3 separate regions of the Homo sapiens genome follow, and regions 2 and 3 are each linked to region 1. Evidence: promoter capture Hi-C in 16 types of primary human blood cells and fetal thymus (Javierre and others, 2016). All regions are on one chromosome and are shown on one strand. The core of a region is centred on a gene start or on the middle of the fragment in contact, and the rest is flanking DNA. Distances in the headings are between cores, read along the strand shown.

Region 1 (3,553 bases), core at 381-2,880:
TTTTTGAGACGGAGTTTCACTCTTGTTGCCCAGGCTGGAGTGCAATGGCGTGCTCTCAGCTCACCGCAACCTCTGCCTCCCAGGTTCAAGCGATTGTCCTGCCTCAGCCTCCAGAGTAGCTGGGATTAGAGGTATGCGCCACCACGCCCGGCTAACTTTTTTGTATTTTTAGTAGAGACAGGGTTTCTCCATGTTGGTCAGGCTGGTCTCGAACTCCTGACCTCAGGTCATCTGCCCGCCTCAGCCTCCCAAAGTGCTGGGATTACAGGCGTGAGCCACCACGCCCAGCCTGATGCGCCCATTTTTAGGTTAGCAATTTCCATAAGCTGCAGAAGGAGCTGCTTCGGGTTATTCTTCTATCTGAGCTCTGGTTAACTAACCATGTCATTTATTCATTCATTTTTAAATGGGTAAAATATACATATATTTTTAAAAATACTATTTTCTGGCCGGGCGCAGTGGCTGACTCCTGTAATCCCAGCACTTTGGGAGGCCTATGTAGGTGGATCACTTGAGGTCAGGAGTTCGAGACCAGCCTGGCCAACATGGTGAAACCCCGTCTCTACTGAAAATACAAAAATCAGCGGGGCATGGTGGCAGGCGACCGTAATCCCAGCCACTCCAGAGGCTGAGGCAGGAGAATCACTTGAACCCAGAAGGTGGAGGTTGCAGTGAGCAGGGATCGCACCACTGCACTGCACTGCACTCCAGCCTGGGTGACAGAGTGAGACTCTGTTTAAAAAAAATTAAATAAATTTCCTGATGTGTGAAAATTATGTGAAATTCACATTTCAGTGTATCCATAACTAAAATTTTATTGGAATACAGCCCATCCATGCCCATTCACTACAGCTGTTTTGGACCTGTAAACAGCAGAGCTGAGTTGTCCGACAGAGACCGCCCCGCCCGCCGCCCCCCAACCACCCCCCCATTTTTCATAGAGAAAAATGAAGTAGGGAAGTGAGACAGAGAGTGAAAGGGTCTGCAATTTTCCATAAGTGGTCATGTCAGATCTCATTAAAAGGTGACATCTGAGCGAGCCCTTTCTGAAGGGTGTCACCTAACCCCAAGGGGCTCCTGGCCTCCGCCCAGGGAAGCTCTCCAGCTCTTACCGAAGTAGTCAAGCCAGTTCATCTCGCGCAGAGCCTTGGGGAGCCGCAGGATCTCGATGTTGTAGAGGTTATCCACCTCCTTGAGGAGGTTCTGCCTGTCTGACTCAATTTGCTTGATTCGTATTTCCACTGCGGGAGGGCAGAGCCGACAGGACACGGGTCACGGGCGGGCGAATCTGTGCAGCTCGTGTCCCCACCCGCCAGCATCCCGCGACCGCCCCAGGAGGCCGCGACGGCCTGGCCCCTTACCTTCACGGTCGAAGTCTTTCAGAAAGGAGGCGAGCTTCCGCCTCCGTAAGGAGTTGGTCTTGGCCACCCGACTACTGCCCTTCCTAGGAGCCATGGCGCTCGGCGGAGGCTGCGGGGAGCGGCGGAGATGGGGCAGGGAAGCAAGAAACTGGGTAGGGACGAGGAGGGCGGACGGGGACCACCCGAAGAAGTCGCCAGGCACGTACCTGCGGTCCCGAGACAAGGGCTGAGCAAAACCTCGCTGTGCCAGTGAGAGAGAGCGGCTCTACAGTCAACCGCCACCCAATTCAAACTCCACAGTCACAGGCTGACGAATGAGAAGCCGCCGTCCCACAACATCCAATCACAAGCAAGTTCCTGCCGGCCCAGGGTCTTCCGCCCAATGCGCCCCCTATAGCCTGAGTGCGACAGCGAGGCCGCCGCCGTCGCGGGTACTCCTGGGAGTTGTGGTCCAGGCTTGTTTCCCCGCCCTCCCCACCAACCCACCCGGCTCCGCCCTGGCCGGCTGCGAACTATACAAACTACTACTCCCGGCAGGCCTTGTGGCGGCTCTGCAATACCCCAAGCTCTGGAGGGCTGGGGGCCTACTAGGTCAGGTCGGCTGTAGGATTCTGCTCCAGGGTTGGCGGCTGCTTCTTTCTGGCCTGGCTGCCACTGAGTAGCCGAGGGGCCGCCGTGACCCTCTGACTGATTGACTGGCTGGCTGCCTACGTCGGCGCTCCTCAGGGCCCCAAGCTCCTCAGGCCGAACTTCGGGCAAGTGGCGGGTCGGCAGAGACAGAGCAGCCCCGGCAGGGTTTGACAGAGCAAGGGGGACGGAATGATAGAGGAGCAGGGCAGGGGTGCAGGCTTTGGGGGGGGCGCGCTATCCCGCGGCCAGTCTGGGCAGCGAGTGGGGGGAACCCTGTCGTTCCTCGCTCCCCCGCGGGCCGGCCACTCCCGCCCAGTTCGCGTGTTGGCGCCTCGACTGGGTGCGCAGCGCGGGGCTGCGACTTCAGGTGCAAGTAGTGGCGCTTGGCAGCTGGCCACACGGTGACTGCAGCATGAGCCGCGGCCACCAGGCTCCAGGGAGCCCAGGGCAGGAGGCAGCTCTGGGTGTCGTGGCCGTGGGCCTGGGAATGGGCGTGTAGACGGCGAGCCCCGCCGAGCCGCGGTCCTGTCGGAGGTGCTAACTGTGCATCTTGGTATCTGCCCACGGCCACAGGGTTGGATTGCTCAAGAGTTGTGCTGAGACCCAGAAGGCTAGAGGCTAGTTTCGAAGCTGTAGCTCAGGCTGAGTCTCAAGGCGGGCGGCGACTGGACGGCCAGACCGGCGAGCTCTTGACGGGTTTGTGGCCTGATTGTTTGGATTTGGTGCTTTTCACCTGTGGATGCGGTCTGAAGCCATGTCAGAGGGGTTGTGTTTAAGCGTGCATGTTATAGGCTATGGGAGTGATAATCTTGCCTCTCCCCCTCTGAGTTGAGGAACAATCGAAGAAATAAGCAAAGGTGCCAAGCAGGCTCCTGATGGGCACCAGCGAGCTTGGGGACAGAGCAGTCCAAGCATAGAAGTCCTGGCAAGCCTGGACCTTCCTGGAAAGTCCTTTCTCTCTCTTCCACCCTGGTCTGTTGCTCCATATGCAACAAATATTTGAATGTCGCTCTTCCGCCCGAGGTCAGCCCTGGGCAGTGGGTAGTGGGGGTGACACCCCAGTCTGCTGGGTGCCTGAGGATCTCCATCAGTCAGATGGCCAAGATGAGACGGGATGACAACCCGTACCTCATGTAGGCTTTCCCCCTGCAGGTGTTTTTATGCTGCGCAAGTCGGGCTTCCAGCCTCTCGGTTTCAGGGTTTCCTTCACCCTACTCCCCAGTGAGCCCGAACTCCCTGGGCACCTAGGACGTCCACCTGCATTTTAGCCAGAGCTGCCACGTCAGGAGCCCGTGATTTACTAGTTTTTGCCAGTTGGTTGTGATACACAATGTCAAAAGTGTCATTAAGGCACAACCGGAGGCGCAAGATAAGAGGAAAAGACTCCACAGCTAACAGGACATGCCACCACCGCCACCCAATTTAAACTGCCGCAGGCTGACAAATGAGAAGTCGCCGTGTTTGGACGGTCCCAACATCCAATCCCAAGGAAGCTTCAAGCCGAGTGGCCAGTCCACATGTTGGACTACAGTACCCAGAAGTCATTGCGGCACTACGATATA
Region 2 (3,553 bases), core at 371-2,870, 2.8 Mb after region 1:
CCCCTACAATACTGTTCCCTTTTCTCCATCTTCACTGCCAGAGCTTAGCTTTGAGCTGTTTGAGATAATAGAGGAAGGGTGTCTAATGTGATAAGCAGTCTATGTATGAGGCTTCCTCTGGAGGTGACCCTTAAGCTTGAAAATTGTGCCAGAGCACAATCTGGCATAGTAAAGAAAGGTGGGAAGGGCACTACATGGCCAGGCACGGTGGCTCATGCCTGTAATCCCAGCACTTTGGGAGGCTGAGGCGGGCGGATTGCTTGAGCTCAGGAGTTCGAGACCAGCCCTAGCAACATGGTGAAACCCAGTCTCTACAAAAAGTACAAAAATTAGCCAGGCCTGGTGGTGTGCATCTGTGGTCCCAGCTACTCGGAAGGCTGAAGTGGGAGGATCACTTGAGCCCAGGAGGTTGAGGCTGCAGTGAGCTATGATTGTGCCACTGCACTCTAGCCTGGGCAACAGAGCGAGAGTCCTGTTAAAAAAAAAAAAAAAAGCGGCCAGGCGCAGTGGCTCACGCCTGTAATCCCAGCACTTTGGGAGGCCGATGCGGGCAGATCACCTGAGGTCGGGAGTTCGAGACCAGCTTCCCCAACATGGAGAAACCCCTTCTCTATTAAAAATACAAAATTAGCCGGGCGTGGTGGTGCATGCCTGTGATCCCAGCTACTCAGGAGGCTGAGGCAGGGGAATCACTTGAACCTGGGAGGCGGAGGTTGCGGTGAGCCGAGATCACGCCATTGCACTCCAGCCCAGGCAACAAGAGTGAAATTGAACAACAACAACAAAAAAGGTGGGAAGGTAGATGAAAAAGCATCAATAAGGCACTGAGGTGTGAAACAGTGTGGTCTGCCGGGTTTAGTATGTGCGAGCAAAATAAATATGCAGGCTGAGATTAGTGGGATGAGGGTGGGAAGGGCCTTGTGGGAGCATTAACAAGCTTGAGCTTTGGGACTTTTCTGTATATGATAAAATTGATGTCTGTATAGGGTACAGTGGGGACACAGAGGAGGAAGTGAATACTTGTACCCAAGAGGTCATGTAAGACTTAGGTTTTACTATATTTGAATTATTTTTACACTAACAATAGCCACATTTATTTCCCTGCTGGCTGTGTGCCTGCCACAGTACTTTACAAATATTATCTCTTCCAACCCTCACACCATCCTTGCGAAATGGGTGTTATTACCTCTACACAGAAGGGGAAGGGAGGCTCAGACAGGTTAATAATGTTCCCAAGGTCACTAGAAAGCTAGCCCGGATCCCAAGAGGTCTTAAAGCACTAAAATATACTCTTCTAAGAAGAGCTTCTTGAGGTCAGGGATCATGTCTTTTGTTTTTGCGTGCCCAGACCTAGGTCTTAGAAGACGCCTAATAAACATCAGTTGAAAAAAATGACTGGATGATCTTTCACTTTTTCCACGCAGAAAACACGTGGCGACATCACTGAGAAACCTCCCGGCCAACAGAGGGCGCGACGTCCATTTCAGCGCAGTGGGGCCCAGTTGCGGACGCCTAGCTTCCTTCCGTCCTTTGGCTGAAGTTCAGCCAATCCCTGCGCTCCGAGAGAGCCGGCGGCCAGTGGGCAGGGTCACAGGGCAAGGTCCCGCGGGCCGCTGGGTGCGGCGACTTCCGTGCTCCCGGCGAGCGGGCGGAGAGCGGGGGCCGCACTGGGGAGTGTGGGCTGGGCCGCAGGTGAGCGCGCGGTCCCGGCGAGCAGGTCGGGTCAGCCCAGGCCAGTAACCTCTGAGTTACGGGAGGAGTGATCGCTAGGGTCCACCCCGGTCCCGGCCAGATCTGCCAGCTCCCCTCTCTGGCGGGTGTTCTGGTGCCAAGTCTGGGAGCCCAGGTAGCCCTCCGCAGACAGGGCTTCTCGGCACCTCAATGAGGACGGACGTTGATGAGGCCATGAATGAGGTGGGCTAGGGACAGGGGACCGGGAGACTCACAGAAGGGAGAAGGGTAGCCATTTGGATGGACCTTCGCCTTACTTGCGCTCCCATTCCTGGACTGCGCTCTAGTGACTGTCAGGGCTAATTCTTCCGCCTTCTCAGGCCTCCTGTGTCCTTGTTAGTAGTTCTTGAATTTGGGACTACGGCTTCTGGCCTCGTTGGGCCTCCGGGCCCTCGCACTGGGGCAGGTTTCCCAGCAGCCCAGTTGACCTTTACCGGATGCTTTTGGCAGACGTCCTCCATGCCGGGCTGGAAATATGCGTCACAGTGTTTTTCAGACACTTTTGCCTCTTTCATTGTGATACCCTGCCTGGGGACGACTATGATGGAGTCTTTAGGTTTTTGTAATCAGCAAAGGCATCTGTTATGCTCCTGCCACCTTTTGGGGGAGAGTGGGTGGAGGATGTTGTGATTTTACACTAGGGAGTTTGGGCTGTCATTCATTCGTTCAGCAGACCTTTTTTGGGCACTCTGCCAGGCAGGGTAGGAGAGGTGCCTGGATGGATAGGGCATAATTGGGCCAGACAGACACGGTTCTTAGCCTTTTGGAGCTTAAAGTGTCTTGAGAAACGCAGACAGGGTAAGCCAGCATCGTGCCTGACACAGAGTAAGTGGTTATAAGTGTCGAATAAAGGAATGAATTGACTTATTTGGGAATGATTAGAATGTGAGCAGGACGGTAGCGAGAGACTTTATGCTGCATGTGAGAGATAGTTGTGAACTCATGCGCGATATGTTTTAAGACAGGTTTGGAAATCTGAACGGACAGTTGCTATTTAGGGAAGCATTTACTTATACAGAGGACTTGCTTTAAAGGTGGAAGTAAAATGGAGAAGTATTAGGTTTGGGATTCTTCAGAGGTGCCTCTTTTAACTATTACTATGTCTCTGAATTTCATAAATCCCTGAGTACAATCTCAGAGTTTGGGAAAAGGAAAGCTCTTCTAGGTAATGAAATGCCAGGCTGATGGGAAAAAACTGTAGGAAGCTCTCCCTAAGTCCAGGGTTTGGACAGAAACCGTATACCTCTGCAGTGTGTTCTTCCCACTAGAAAGAGTGTAGGCTTTGAAATTGGAGAGGCCTGGGTTCAAAATCAGTGGCTCTATCACTTCTAGTGATCTTGGATAAGTTAACATAATGTCTGTGAGCCTTTGTGGCCTTCACAAGAGTCTGGGCTAATAATTCCTACATCATAGAGGTGTTATGAGGATCAAATGATGATTAGTGTGTAAATTGTCATCATAGTGCCTGGTGCTGAGACAATAAGCGGGGGAGTCTTGGAGATGCTGCAATTTTTTTTTTTTTTTTAAATTTCATGATGCTGCCTTATTGCAGGGGTCCTTAACCCCCTGGGCCACAGACCAGTGGTGGTCTTCAGCCCATTAGAAACTGGGCTGCACAGCAGGAGGTGAGCGGTGGGCAAGCTGGCAAGCATTACCGCCTGAGCTCCACCTTCTGATAGATCAGCAGCGGCATTAGATTCTCACAGGAGTGCAAACTCTATTGTGAACTGCGCATGTGAGGGATCTACGTTGTGTGCCCCTTATGAGAATCTAATGCCTGATGATCTGAGCTGGAACAGTTTCATCCCGAAACCATCCCTCT
Region 3 (3,553 bases), core at 548-3,047, 2.1 Mb after region 1:
GTTCAAGCGATTCTCTTGCCTTGGCCTCCCCAGTAGCTGGGATTACAGGTGCCGCACCACCACGCCCAGCTAATTTTGGTATTTTTAGTAGAGACGGGGTTTCATCATGTTGGCCAGGCTGGTCTCGAACTCCTGAACTCGTGATCCGCTCGTCTTGGCCTCCCAAAGTGCTAGGATTACTGGCGTGAGCCACTGCCCCTGGCAACACTGAGTATCTCGGTACACAAATATTTGGACTGTGTGTCCAAACATTTCTTTTGGACATATTCAAAAGGTTATGCATATTTAACAGATATTAAAATTGTTCTCTATAAAAAGGTTGTACAACTTAGAACCTTACCCCCAATTTATACTTTCTCATTGTTTCTTATTTCCCATTTTCCTAATTACCATCAAGGTTGAGGATCTTTTCATGTTTATTGGCCATTCGTGTTGCTTCTTTTGTGAATTGTTTTTCTTAGTCTTTGGTCTTTTTTTATTTTTTATTTTTTTTTTTGAGATGGAGTCTCTCTGTTGCACAGGCTGGAGTGGAGGGGCGCTATCTCGGCTCACTGCAATCTCCGCCTCCTAGGTTCAAGCAATTCTCCTGCTTCAGCCTCCGGAGTAGTACAGGCGCCTGCCACCACGCCCAACTAATTTTTTGTATTTTTAGTAGGGACGGGGTTTCACCATATTGGCCAGGCTGTTCTCGAACTCCCGACCTCTTGATCCGCCCCCGTGCCCTGCCGGGTCTTTTAAAAATGGTATTGTCTCACCCGGCTCCCCTCCCATTGGTTTGTAGGAATATCTTTTAAGTTATAGATATTAACTTTTTCCTTTCTTCTGTCTATAAGGTCCAAAATAGTAACTATTTCTACAATTGAAACATTCCCAATTTACATTTACTGTTGAGCATGATAATGACTTTCACCACATAGAGACGTGTAATTTTAGGTAGTCAAATCTGTCAAGTCTTTTCTCATATTGCTTCTGGGTTCCCTGTCAAGCTTAGAAACACATCTCTTCCAAAAATTACAGAAATATTTTTCTACTTTTTCTTCCATGTTTGTATCTCTCTCCCTCTCTTTTTTTTTTTTTTTTTTTTTTTTTTTTTTTTTTTTTTTTTTTTGAGACGGAGTTTCGCTTTTGTTGCCCAGGCTGGAGTGCTCACCGCAACCTCCGCCTCCAGGGATCAAGCGATTCTCTGTCTCAGCCTCCAGAGTAGCTGGGATTACAGGCATGCGCCACCACGCCCAGCTAATTTTGTATTTTTAGTAGAGACGGGGTTTCTCCATATTGGTCAGGCTGGTCTCGAACTCCCAAGCTCAGGTGATCCGCCTGCCTTGGCCTCCCAAAGTGCTGGGATTACAGGCGTGAGCCACTGCGCCCGGCCATGCTTATATCTTTAATCCAACCATATACTATTTTTGTGAAGGATGGAAGTAAGGCTCCCCTCAAGTTAATTTTTCTCCAATCTGGCTTGCAGGAAAGGGGTTTCTGGGGAGATTTTACCGAGCAACGTAGGGAAACGGCTGCCTGGCTACCTACCCCTTTTTGACACCCACACGTGCTCGGCACCTTACATACACTGCGTGATTTTATCCTAAAGCCACTTTTAAAATCTTAGTGTGTAAACAGAGAAACTGGGCGTCACATAAGGCAAGTGACCTGCACAGCCTGCTCCGGAGGAGACCCGTACGATCCCAGAGACAAGCACTGAACATAAGGCACCCGGCGCCGCGCCCGCTTTGCAACCTCTCGCGACAGTTGTACGTCATCCGAGAGCGCCGTGGAAGTCGTGCTGCAGGCGTCGCGCCAATCTTCGCTCTGAGGTGCTGTCTCACCGGTGAGACCTGGAAGCGGGCGAGTCTCGTGCTGTGTCGGACCTGCAGCCCCTGGCCTTCCGCCACCATGGAGTACCTCATCGGTATCCAAGGCCCCGACTATGTTCTTGTCGCCTCCGACCGGGTGGCCGCCAGCAATATTGTCCAGATGAAGGACGGTGAGAGGAAGCAGGGGAGGCCCGGCCAGGCCTGGGGTGTAGGAGCGGCCAGAAGGAGTTTGTCGGGGGTTGAATAAGTACCAGGGAGGATCTGAGAGATGGAAGCCGGCCTGCCCTGCCCGTACTTATTTTATTTATTTATTTATTTTTTCGAGAGGGGTTTCGCTCTTGTTGTCCAGGCCGGAGTGCAATGGCGCGATCTCGGCTTAGCACAGTCTTTGTCTCCCGGGTTCAAGCGATTCTCGTGCCTCAGCCTCCCGAGTAGCTGGGAACAGATATGCGCCACCACGCCTGGCTAATTTTTGTATTATTAGTAGAGATGTGGATTTCTCCATATTGGTCAGGCTGGTCTCGAACTCCCGACCTCAGGAGATCCGCCCGTCTCGGCCTTCCAAAGTGCTGGGATTACAGGCGAAACAGGCAGACAGGTCTGGGACCTTGGCATTTGCTCCTCCAGGGCTCCTGGGTCAGTGCTCTGCTCTGGCCTTCGCTAAATGCTTCTTGCTTGGTGAGAGTTGCCTAAAGGGAATCAGTTTATAAATGTTTAAGCGCCTGCCCAGAGCCTGGCTCTCTAGATCCCCGAATCTCTGATAAGTTTCCTGGTGTCGCTAGTAATGAGGTTAGTTTGTTGGCGGCATAAGGTGGGATCCTGAGGAGAGTGAGACTGTGGGACTGGCTCTCTAGATCCCCGAATCTCTGATAAGTTTCCTGGTGTCGCTAGTAATGAGGTTAGTTTGTTGGCGGCATAAGGTGGGATCCTGGGGAGAGTGAGACTGTGGGACCAGAAGCTTGGCATTTTCCTTCTTCCCGTGGCTCCCGATTCTTCTTTTCCAGTTTTCCAGAGCAATGGCTGCCAGGTTTTCCTTATATTTAAGTAGTTAATGGAGTTAAGAGATTGGAGCCCTGTCATTTATTTGCCTTATGAGTTTGTATAAGTTATTTTGCAGTGCCCAGATTTCCTCATCTTTAAGATTAGCAATACCAAACTCACAAACTTGTCGGGAGGATTTAGTAAATGAGTTATGTGCAAATCCTTAGCACTAGGCAGGTACTTAATAATACTAAGTGTACGTAGGTGCCCAAACATATTTGTCAAATGACCATTAAGTCATCTGAACCAAAGCTTAATACTTTTTCAACAGTAGCACGTCTTTGATCAGTTAAGGAAAACAAACTTAGATTCTGCAGAAAAACAACCAAAATCTTCTTAAAATTATGTATTGAGTAATTTAGTATAGATAGTATAGTATAGTATAGTATAGTATAGTATAGTATAGTATATTATAGTACTTAGGGGCAAAATGTCTGGACTCACTGCATAGGTTGAACCCAGGTTCTGCCACTTGTGACCTTAAGCAAATTTCTCTAACTCCGTGCCCTAGAGCTAACATCTATAAGGTGGTAATGTAATAGCACCTATCTCAAAAGGTTAATGAATTAATGTAAATCACTTAACATAGCACCTTATACTTTATGAAATTCTATGATTAGTTTGTAGAAGTTTTGTTTGTAAGCCAGTCCTTCCAAAGGAGTGAATTTGTTTTGAGAGTAAATTTGTCCATTATTTTGAAT

What was found. Contacts are between HindIII fragments. The CHiCAGO score rates a contact against its expected background, and 5 or more counts as called.
Region 2: a contact is called between the fragment with the promoter of SMIM12 here and the fragment with the promoter of CDCA8 in region 1, in 6 of 17 cell types (naive CD4 T cells, total CD4 T cells, activated CD4 T cells and 3 more). The highest score is 8.9, in naive CD4 T cells.
Region 3: a contact is called between the fragment with the promoter of PSMB2 here and the fragment with the promoter of CDCA8 in region 1, in 4 of 17 cell types (naive CD4 T cells, naive CD8 T cells, fetal thymus and 1 more). The highest score is 9.0, in naive CD4 T cells.

Annotation. Positions count from the first base shown.
Region 1 is chr1:37,690,593-37,694,145 of GRCh38, reverse strand. CDCA8 (cell division cycle associated 8) reads right to left here and starts at 1,630. Exons shown (of 10, transcript NM_001256875.2): 1 at 1,362-1,630; 2 at 1,113-1,241. The coding sequence starts at 1,455. It also overlaps a transcript of AIRIM not described here. RefSeq lists enhancers at 849-1,357, 1,358-1,868, 1,907-2,096, 1,869-2,378, 2,379-2,889 and 1 more and silencers at 2,327-2,496, 2,517-2,576. The HindIII fragment of the contact is 4,527 bases long and covers 1-3,486 here.
Region 2 is chr1:34,857,816-34,861,368 of GRCh38, reverse strand. SMIM12 (small integral membrane protein 12) reads left to right here and starts at 1,620. Exons shown (of 2, transcript NM_138428.6): 1 at 1,620-1,692. RefSeq lists a silencer at 1,669-1,798. The HindIII fragment of the contact is 6,874 bases long and covers 940-3,553 here.
Region 3 is chr1:35,639,770-35,643,322 of GRCh38, reverse strand. It overlaps PSMB2 (proteasome 20S subunit beta 2), which reads left to right and starts at 1,797. Exons shown (of 6, transcript NM_002794.5): 1 at 1,797-1,981. The coding sequence starts at 1,891. RefSeq lists enhancers at 892-1,856, 1,609-2,068, 1,857-2,822. The HindIII fragment of the contact is 1,783 bases long and covers 989-2,771 here.